Linked DNA regions of Homo sapiens: region 2 is linked to region 1. Evidence: promoter capture Hi-C in human tissues and cell types (Jung and others, 2019). All regions are on one chromosome and are shown on one strand. Each heading gives the region's core, a stretch centred on a gene start or on the middle of the fragment in contact. The rest is flanking DNA. Distances are from core to core; before and after follow the strand shown. Region 1 holds the start of SLC1A3 (solute carrier family 1 member 3). Region 2 has its middle 97 kb from the start of SLC1A3.

What was found. Contacts are between HindIII fragments. The study calls those that stand out against the background at their distance.
Region 2: a contact is called between a fragment that was not itself captured here and the fragment with the promoter of SLC1A3 in region 1, in 2 of the 25 tissues and cell types used here (bladder and small bowel).

The regions. Positions count from the first base shown.
Region 1 is chr5:36,603,935-36,608,459 of GRCh38, reverse strand. SLC1A3 (solute carrier family 1 member 3) reads right to left here and starts at 1,854. Exons shown (of 10, transcript NM_004172.5): 1 at 1,725-1,854; 2 at 1-131. The coding sequence starts at 36. RefSeq lists an enhancer at 1,648-1,747. The HindIII fragment of the contact is 11,728 bases long and covers 1-4,525 here.
Region 2 is chr5:36,507,200-36,511,724 of GRCh38, reverse strand. No RefSeq gene overlaps it. Among named protein-coding and RNA genes, the nearest start is that of SLC1A3, 97 kb to the left of the region's middle. The HindIII fragment of the contact is 3,090 bases long and covers 849-3,938 here.

The DNA of each region.
Region 1 (4,525 bases), core at 605-3,104:
CCCCATCTTGGGCTCTTCTCCATTGCTTTTAGTCATATTTTACTTTTCTAGGAGGGTCTCTTCTTTGCACTTCAGTGTCTGGGAATCACCCACAGAAAGCCAAACCTCCTCTTTGGTATTAGAAAACACAACTAGAATGGGAGAAAAAGAGACATGAGTTATAGCCTCCAGGGGTGAGAAATCAGTGCTGCTCCACACCAGGCAAGCTCTTGGCAAATTGCATAATCTCAGCAGGAATCAAGGACTGGAGAGCCACAATACCAGACCTCAAGGTTGCAGTGTGCATATTTTAGTGGACCACGTGTGAGAAATGTGCATAAATTCGGAATATATTCTATTTTCTTTTTAAAAATCCGTCCTTCCCCTTCCAATGAGGCTATAAAAGGGTTCTTCAGAGCTAGATCTGACTGAGAACCCCTATTCCCACCCTCCCCCGCAGAACCCAGCTGATGCCTTGCACAACGTACACAATCAGTAAATGTCCAATTGAACTGAATGCACAGAAAGTATTCAATCATTACTTGACAAATTATGCTGTATACATGGTTGAAAGCATAACCAGGTCAATAAAAATAATTAAGATACTGATAGGTGGGAGTTGTCTCTGTTACATGCAGTAAAGTAACCAGCTATTTTCTTCATTAAGAAAAAAATATAATAATATCTACTAGTAAATATGGTCATAAAAAGAACACAAGTGCCCACAGTACATGGGAAATACATGTGACTATTTTACAGGGTAATTTTTTCATTTTTTTTCCATGAAATAAGCAAAGTGCTCTGGGCACATCTATAAATCATCTGAAATCACAATTCAGCTTCGTTTATCACAAGTAGAAGTATGAAGTAGTGTTTTTCTTTGTGACACACATGCTGGAATCTTCCGAGGAAACTATCGCTGACTTTTTAGCGTTTTAAAATTTAGGATTTCTAGAACAGATGAGATGAAACCAATTTTCATTCCAAACATTACAGCTTGTGGTTTCTGGTTTCTTTAAAGCACTCACGCTATTTAACTACATTTCAGTAAATCTCTTTCCTGGTGGAAATCAGCTGTTCTGAAAAATCAAGGGATTCCTCCTGGTGCTTTACAGGAGCTCTAATCCATAGCCCTTCCCATAATCAATCCGAGTGAAAACCAGCCGTACCATGGATGTGTGTCGCTGCCAACGCAAGCAGCCAGCGTGTGCGCCTGTGGGGGAGGTAACTGGAAACCAAAGGACTCCTCGCAAATGACTTCTCGCAATCCCAGTGCAGGAAAAAAAAAGACTTGTCTTAACAGTTTGCCTTTTAAATAAAATTGCAAGTTGGGGTCAGTGATACTAAGACTTCTAATTTGTTTAAGACTTCACACTGGATTAAATGCTTAGGGAGAAGTGAAGACCGGGAAATAGGAGAGACCAGATTTTTTTTTTTTTTAAACTAATAGCTCTGATTCCTCTTACCAGTCACTTTTAAGCAGATCCGCTCAACCTTGATCCTTTTCTAGATCTCGCGCCACAATCTGCCCCCAATCCACCCCGAATGACTCAACTCCGAATTAACAGCGGACCCGGCATAAACAGACACCACACTCTCACGACGTGAGATGACTAACAAGGACTTTATCTACCAAAATGGCTAGCCTTGATTCAGGCTACTCCTCTGCTTGGAAGGCAAAATACATCGGCAGAGAAGTGAAAGGAGAAATTAAACCCAGCAGGAACACAGAATGTGACACTTACCTTTTCTGATTTTGTAAGGGGTGGAAGATATCAAGCAGTAACGAGGTGAATTCCCCAGCAGGTACAACGGAGCAACAATCCGCAGCGCGCGTAAGCAGGCAGGCTAGCCCTGACAGTGTGCATGTGCTCTGAAACTGCAAGTTACTATCAGGGCAACTTAAGAAAAGGGGAGGAGTCTGTGCCCGGGAAAGGAGGAGTGGGGAATGGAAACCGCACAGGGAGGAGGGGGAAACCCCGAGGTTTCTGGAATATTGATTAATCTTGGCACACCAGAAGCAGGCTTGCTGGCTTTGTTTTGCTCCTTAGACCACTTTCACGCTTTGTCAGTTCACTGTCATTAGAAATGCAAAACCGGGACTAGGAAGAATTGAAAAATAAAGCGCACACAATCGGAAAGCTGAAAGTCTTGATTAGAACGTTTCAAAGACTTTTCTAAGGCTAAATTTAATTACCTCACATTATTGCATGTTTCCTCCCTTTCAGGGAAGACGAGGGTGTGCTCTTTAGCCTGGTTGTACAACTGTTACGAGAAAGTTCCTTTTTCGAATCGGGGAATTAACTGACGTTTCTTGGGAAGACACTGAATGCAGACAAGTATGTAGAAAAAAAATAATGCTTACTACGATTCTCTAAATTTGTCTAAAGTTAGGGACATGCCTCTATTTCAGCAGTTGAAACTTCAAAACTTCATTTTAACAAACCTAATTTAGCTCACACTGCCTGTGTTGCAAAGACGGAAAAGGTAGCAAATGTAAAGAGACTGGAATTTTTGCCAAACTAGAAAATGAAAAGCATTTTAAGACCAAGAGTGCAAAGTACACTTGAGATTTGGTGATTCAAAAGATAGGTTGCTGTTCAGATGTCTCCATTTTAAAGGATGCTAAATGTTCTCCCTACCACACACAACTTTTTTAGAGCTAAAAAATTCTCATTGCCTTGAGAAGGTAACTTGAGCTTCTAGTCCACTTTTCTTAAAAGAAAAATAAATTGTGAAAATAGATATTAGAAAATAAAAAAAAATTTTTTTGAGGTGACTTATTCCCAAAACTTAAATCTTCTTTAGAAGGAAGAAAATGGTTCATTAGAAACAAAAATTTATACCAGAATCACAGCCTGAGGTTTGGATTCTTGTTCACTGAATTTAATATTCCCCATGCAAAATATGCTCAATTCTTGGTCTATTATTCAACAAGAAAGTATGTCTTTTTTCCCCTCAATACAAATCTCTGGAGATCATAAAGAAATATCTCCTTTCACCCTCAACTGTATGTCCTTTTAAACAGCTACTGGTTGGAAAGCAATGGTGAATCATGTCAATGCTTTAAAATTACAAATCAGCAGCAATTATAACAGCTTTCTAACATGCTATCATTTTAAGAACTTACTGAAAGTACATGCTTTTGACATTCCCAGCCCTCAGTGACCCTTCCCTTCCTCTGATCTCCTAGGTCACTGAGCATCTATACTACATTGTTTAGCACTTAATTATACCATGTTTTGTACTGCATCCTTCTTTTTAAGCTCATGTTAAGTTTTGGTTTCTCAACTAAATTATAAGTTCTTTGAGGGCAAGAACTTGTCTTATACCTAATACAGAGTCAATATTAAGTAACTCTTTTTAAGTGGGTGGAATAATATTAGGATGTGAAACAAAACGCTTTTCAATCTTTTGTGTTAAAACACAATTACTAGTTTTTACATTGGTGCCTCTGGTTTAGGTGCATGGAGCCATTTCTCAATGCCATGACTACTTTTAAAAGCATTTATTTACTATACCAGGTCCTATCTGAGCCATGAGTTTAGGATTAATTTGCACACCCCCCCCCCCCACCGCTTTTTTTTTTTGGTGGAAATGACTTTGACTTGTATTGCAAGGGAACTCGAAAGAGAAATCTGATTTTAAATGGGGTTTCAAGCCCAGTGGCATTTCCATTTTTTGTTTTTATTTTTGTTAATAGGCAAGAAAAAGGGCTGGAAAACCACACTTTGGTTAGCATAGAGATGGGAAGACCCTGGTGCCCTTTCTTTTTCACTTTTTTTTTCCTCTCTAATCCCTAAAGCTTGGTTAAAAACCATTTCATTATTTCAGTTTGTGTAGACATTATGGGAGTCTGGTATTCTGTTGAGAAGGGAAGTAATTCACCACTGAAAGTTTTGTTGGCTGTAATAAAACCTAATGAGAAAATGAGATGCAAAGAGTCTCAGTTCAGAGTTCATCCAATTTTAGTCTGGAGGGAAACATTGGGAATTACTTCTTTAAGCACCACTTTCTCTTTCTGGAAAGCTATAGCAAAAGTCATGCCTGGGGGCCTCCTGGGTTTCCTCAACGCGTATTTCTACCTTTTCCCCTCTACTTTATAGTTAAGTCCCTTGAGCTTTAAAACATCTTTTTTTTTCCTTCTAGAAACACTAAATAAATGAAAGATCAAGAAATTATGAACAAGTCTCTGTATGCTGTATTTCATTTAAAGCTACTCAGGGTGGGAGACACAGAAGCTGGGGGATCATATTAATGTTAGTATTATCAAATGAAAAAAACACAAACACCAGCAGCAAATGCTGTTCCTGCTGAAAAAATCTGTCAAGATCTTTCTGTGAACATTGTGTGATGAAGTATGTTATCAGTAAATTCTTTCTTTGGGAAAAAATGTCAGTATAACAAGAAATAACCAAATCCAACCTGTCCTTAAAGGGAGCATTTATTGGTTTGAAGAACAAGAGATTACGGTAATAAGCACGTGCTGATCTTAGCATGGTACAGGCCAGTCAAACTTCACCATTCAAAATTAGGAAATTTTGGT
Region 2 (4,525 bases), core at 1,144-3,643, 97 kb after region 1:
TGTTGTGTCTCTGCCAGGCTTTGGTATCAGGATGATGCTGGTCTCATAAAATGAGTTAGGGAGGATTCCCTCCTTTTCTATTAATTGGAATAGTTTCAGAAGGAATGGTGCCAGCTCCTCTTTGTACCTCTAGTAAAATTTGGCTGTGAATCCTTCTGGTCCTGGACTTTTTTTGGTTGGTAGACTATTAATTATTGCCTCAATTTCAGAGCCTGTTATTGGTCTATTCAGAGATTCCACGTCTTCTGGTTTCGTCTTGGGAGGGTGTATCTGTCCAGGAATTTATTGATTTCTTCTAGATTTTCTGGTTTGTGTAGAGGTGATTATAGTATTCTCTGATGGTAGTTTGTATTTCTGTGGGATCAGTGGTGATATCCCCTTTATCATTTTTTATTGCATCTATTTGATTCTTCTCTCTTTTCTTCTTTATTAGTCTTGCTAGTGGTCTATCAATTTTGTTGATCTTTTCAAAAAACCAGCTGCTGGATTCATTGATTTTTTGAAGGGTTTTTTTGTATCTTTGTCTCTTTCAGTTCTGCTCTGGTCTTAGTTATTTCTTGCCTTCTGCTAGCTTTTGAATTTGTTTGCTCTTGCTTCTATAGTTCTTTTAATTGTGATGTTAGGGTGTCGATTTTAGATCTTTCCTGCTTTCTCTTGTGGGCATTTAGTGCTATAAATTTCCCTCTACACACTGCTTTAAATGTGTCCCAGAGATTCTGGTATGTTGTGTCTTTTTCTCATTCGTTTCAAAGAACATCTTTAGTTCTGTCTTCATTTCATTATTTAACCCAGTATTCATTCAGAAGCAAGTTGTCCAGTTTCCATGTAGTTGTGAGGTTTTGAGTGAGTTTCTTAATCCTGAGTTCTAATTTGATTGCACCATGGTCTGAGAGATAGTTTGTTGTGATTTCTGTTCTTTTACATTTGCTGAGGAGTGCTTTACTTCCAATTATGTGCTCAATTTTAGAATAAGTGTGATGTGGTGCTGAGAAGAATGTACACTCTGTTGATTTGGGGTGGAGAGTTCTGTAGAGGTCTATTAGGTCTGCTAGTTGCAGAGCTGAGTTCAGGTCCTGGATATCCTTGTTAACCTTCTATCTCATTGATCTGTCTAATATTGAGAGTGGGATGTTAAAATCTCCCATTATTATTGTGTGGGAGCCTAAGTCTCTTTTGTAGGTCTCTAAAGACTTGCTTTATGAATCTGGGTGCTCCTGTATTAGGTGTATATATATTTAGGATAGTTAGCTCTTCTTGTTGTATTGAACCCTTTACCATTATGTAATGGCCTTCTTTGTCACTTTTGATCTTTGTTAGTTTAAAGTCTGTTTTATCAGACTAGGATTGCAACCCCTGTTTTTTTTTGCTTTCTATTTGCTTGGTAGATCTTCCTCCATCCCTTTATTTTGAGCCTATGTGTGTCTTTGCATGTGAGATGGGTCTCCTGAATACAGCACACTGATGGGTCTTGACTGTTTATCCAATTTGCCAGTCTGTGTCTTTTAATTGGAGCATTTAACCCATTTACATTTAAGGTTAAGATTGTTATGTGTGAATTTGATCCTGTCGTTATGATGTTTGCTAGTTATTTTGCCTGTTAATTGATGCAGTTTCTTCATAGCATTGATGGTCTTTACAATTTGGCATGTTTTTGCAGTGGTTGTTACTGGTTGTTTCTTTCCATGTTTAGTGCTTTCTTGGGGAGCTCTTGTAAGGCAGGCCTGGTGGTGACAAAATCTCTCAGCATTTGCTTGTCTATAAAGGATTTTATTTCTTCTTCAATTATGAAGCTTAGTTTGGCTGGATATGAAATTCTGGGTTGAAAATTCTTTTCTTTAAGAATGTTAAATATTAGCACCTACTCTCTTCTGGCTTGTAGGGTTTCTGCCTAGAGATCTGCTGTTTGTCTGATGGGCTTCCCTTTGTGGGTAACCTGACCTTTCTCTCTGGCTGCCCTTAACACTTTTTCCTTCATTTCAACCTTGGTGAATCTGACAAATATGTGTCTTGGGGTTGCACTTCTTGAGGAGTATCTTCGTGGTGTTCTCTGTATTTCCTGAATTTGAATGCTGGCCTGCCTTGCTAAGTTGGGGAAGTTCTCCTGGATAATATCCTGAAGAGTGTTTTCCAACTTGATTCCATTCTCCCCATCACTTTCAGGTACACCAATCAAATGTAGATTTGGTCTTCTCACATAGTCCCATATTTCTTGGAGGCTTTGTTCATTTGTTTTTACTCTTTTTTTTCTAAATTTCTCTTCTCCCTTTATTTCATTAATTTGATCTTCAATCACTGATACCCTTTCTTCCACTTGACTGAATTGGCTATTGAAGCTTGTGCATAAGTCATGAAGTTCTCGTGCCATGGTTTTCAGCTCCATCAGGTCATTTAAGGTCTTCTTTACACTGTTTATTCTCGTTAGCCATTCGTCTAATCTTTTTTCCAGGTTTTTAGCTTCCTTGCAATAAGTTCGAACATCCTCCTTTAGCTCAGAGAAGTTTGTTATTACTGACCTTCTGAAGCCTACTTCTGCCAACTCATCAAAGTCATTCTCTGTCCAGCTTTGTTCCGTTGCTGGCGAGGAGCTGCAATCCTTTGGAGGAGAAGAGGTGCTCTGATTTTTAGAATGTTCAGCTTTTCTGCTCTGGTTTCTCCCCAACTTTGTGGTTTTCTCTGCCTTTGGTCTTTGATGTTGGTGATCTACAGATGGGGTTTTGGTGTAGATGACCTTTTTGTTTATGTTGATGCTATTCCTTTCTGTTTTGTTAGTTTTCCTTCTAATAGTCAGGTCCCTCAGGTGCAGGTGTGTTGGAGTTTGCTGGAGGTTCACTCCAGACCCTGTTTGCCTGGGTATCACCAGCGGAAGCTGCAGAACGGCAAATATTGCTGCCTGATCCTTCCTCTGGAAGCTTCATCCCAGAGGGGCAGCCACCTATATGAAGTGTCTGTCAGCTGCTACTGGGAGGTATCTCCCAGTTAGGCCACATGGGGGTCAGGACCCACTTGAGGAGGCAGTCTGTCCGTTGTCAGAGCTCAAATGCCGTGCTGGGAGAACCACTGCTCTCTTCAGAGCTGTCAGACAGGGATGTTAAAGTTAGCAGAAGTTGTCTGCTGCCTTTTGTTCAGCTATGCTCTGCCCACAGAGGTGGAGTCTAGAGGCAGTGGGCCTTGTTGAACTGCAGTGGGCTCCACCCATTTCGAGTTTCCTGGCTGCTTTGTTTACCTACTCAAGTCTCTGCAATGGCGGATGCCCCTTCCCCAGCCAGGCTGCTGCCTTGCAGTTTGATCTCAGACTGCTGTGCTAGCAGTGAGCAAGGCTCTGTGGGTGTGGGACCCATGGAGCCAGGCACGGGAGAGAACCTCCTTGTCTGCCAGTTGCTAAGACCTTGGGAAAAGTGCAGTATTTTGGCAGGAGTGTCCTGTTTTTCCAGGTCCTGTTTTCTTGGCTTTTCCTAGCCAAGGGAAATCTGTCACGGCTTCCCTTGGCTTGGAAAGGGAAATCCCCCGACCCCTTGCACTTCCTGGGTGAGGCTATGCCCCACCCTGCTTCAGCTTGCCCTCTGTGGGCTGCACCCACTGTCCAACCAGTTCCAATGAGATGAACCAGGTACCTCAGTTGGAAATGCAGAAATCACCCGTCTTCTGCATTGATCATGCTGGGAACTGCAGACCGGAGCTGTTCCTTTTTGGCCATCTTGGAACATCCCCAATTATGCTCCGTTTTAACATTTTTAATTGTGTATACTTTTTTCTGTGCCAGGTGTTAATTTAGTTACCTTTTAAGAAAAACTTAGATTTTCTTGACATCTGTTGTTTATTTTCTAACTCATTGAATCCTTACTTACCTTTGTCATTTCTTTCATTCTGCTTTCCTTGGGTTACCCTGTTCATTTTTTTTTAACTCCTGGAGTTGAATATTCAATCATAAATTTTGAGCTTTTATTATTTCTTTGAATGTCATAACTCCTGGTCAAAACACAAATTTTGGTCTAACGCAGTCGGTGATGAGCTCCCACGGTCTGCCCAGCCCTTGTTCTTAATCAGGAGGTGAATTAAAGTCTTCATCTTCTACGTATGTGGAAGAGGACTAGGCAGAGGAGAAATGGCAGGCAGTGGAGGCAGAGAGTGGGTCCCCAGCCAGTTCCTGGACTCAGAAACCACCCATCAATATTCAAGCCAGAGTAGATGATCACCACCAGGTGGCGCCCAACCTCAACAGGGGCTGGGATGAGTTTTGAATTTGAACCAGAAACTAGACCTCCAAGAACTCTGTCCATGTGCTTTTATTTTTCCTCTTCATCTTCCTTTTTTCTTTTATTATTTTGTTTGTTTTCATTACAACACTCCTTCATCTCCTTCTATTGGCTTGAACGTATTCCTTCTATTTCAAATATTTTATTAGTTACAGTAAAAATTCTATCATGCATACTTTACTGGTCAATATTTCTTTGTTTCCCCTCCCCAATATACAAAGATTTAAAACTGCCCCTTCAATCTTCCATGTTATGTTTCCTTAGTATTTTAG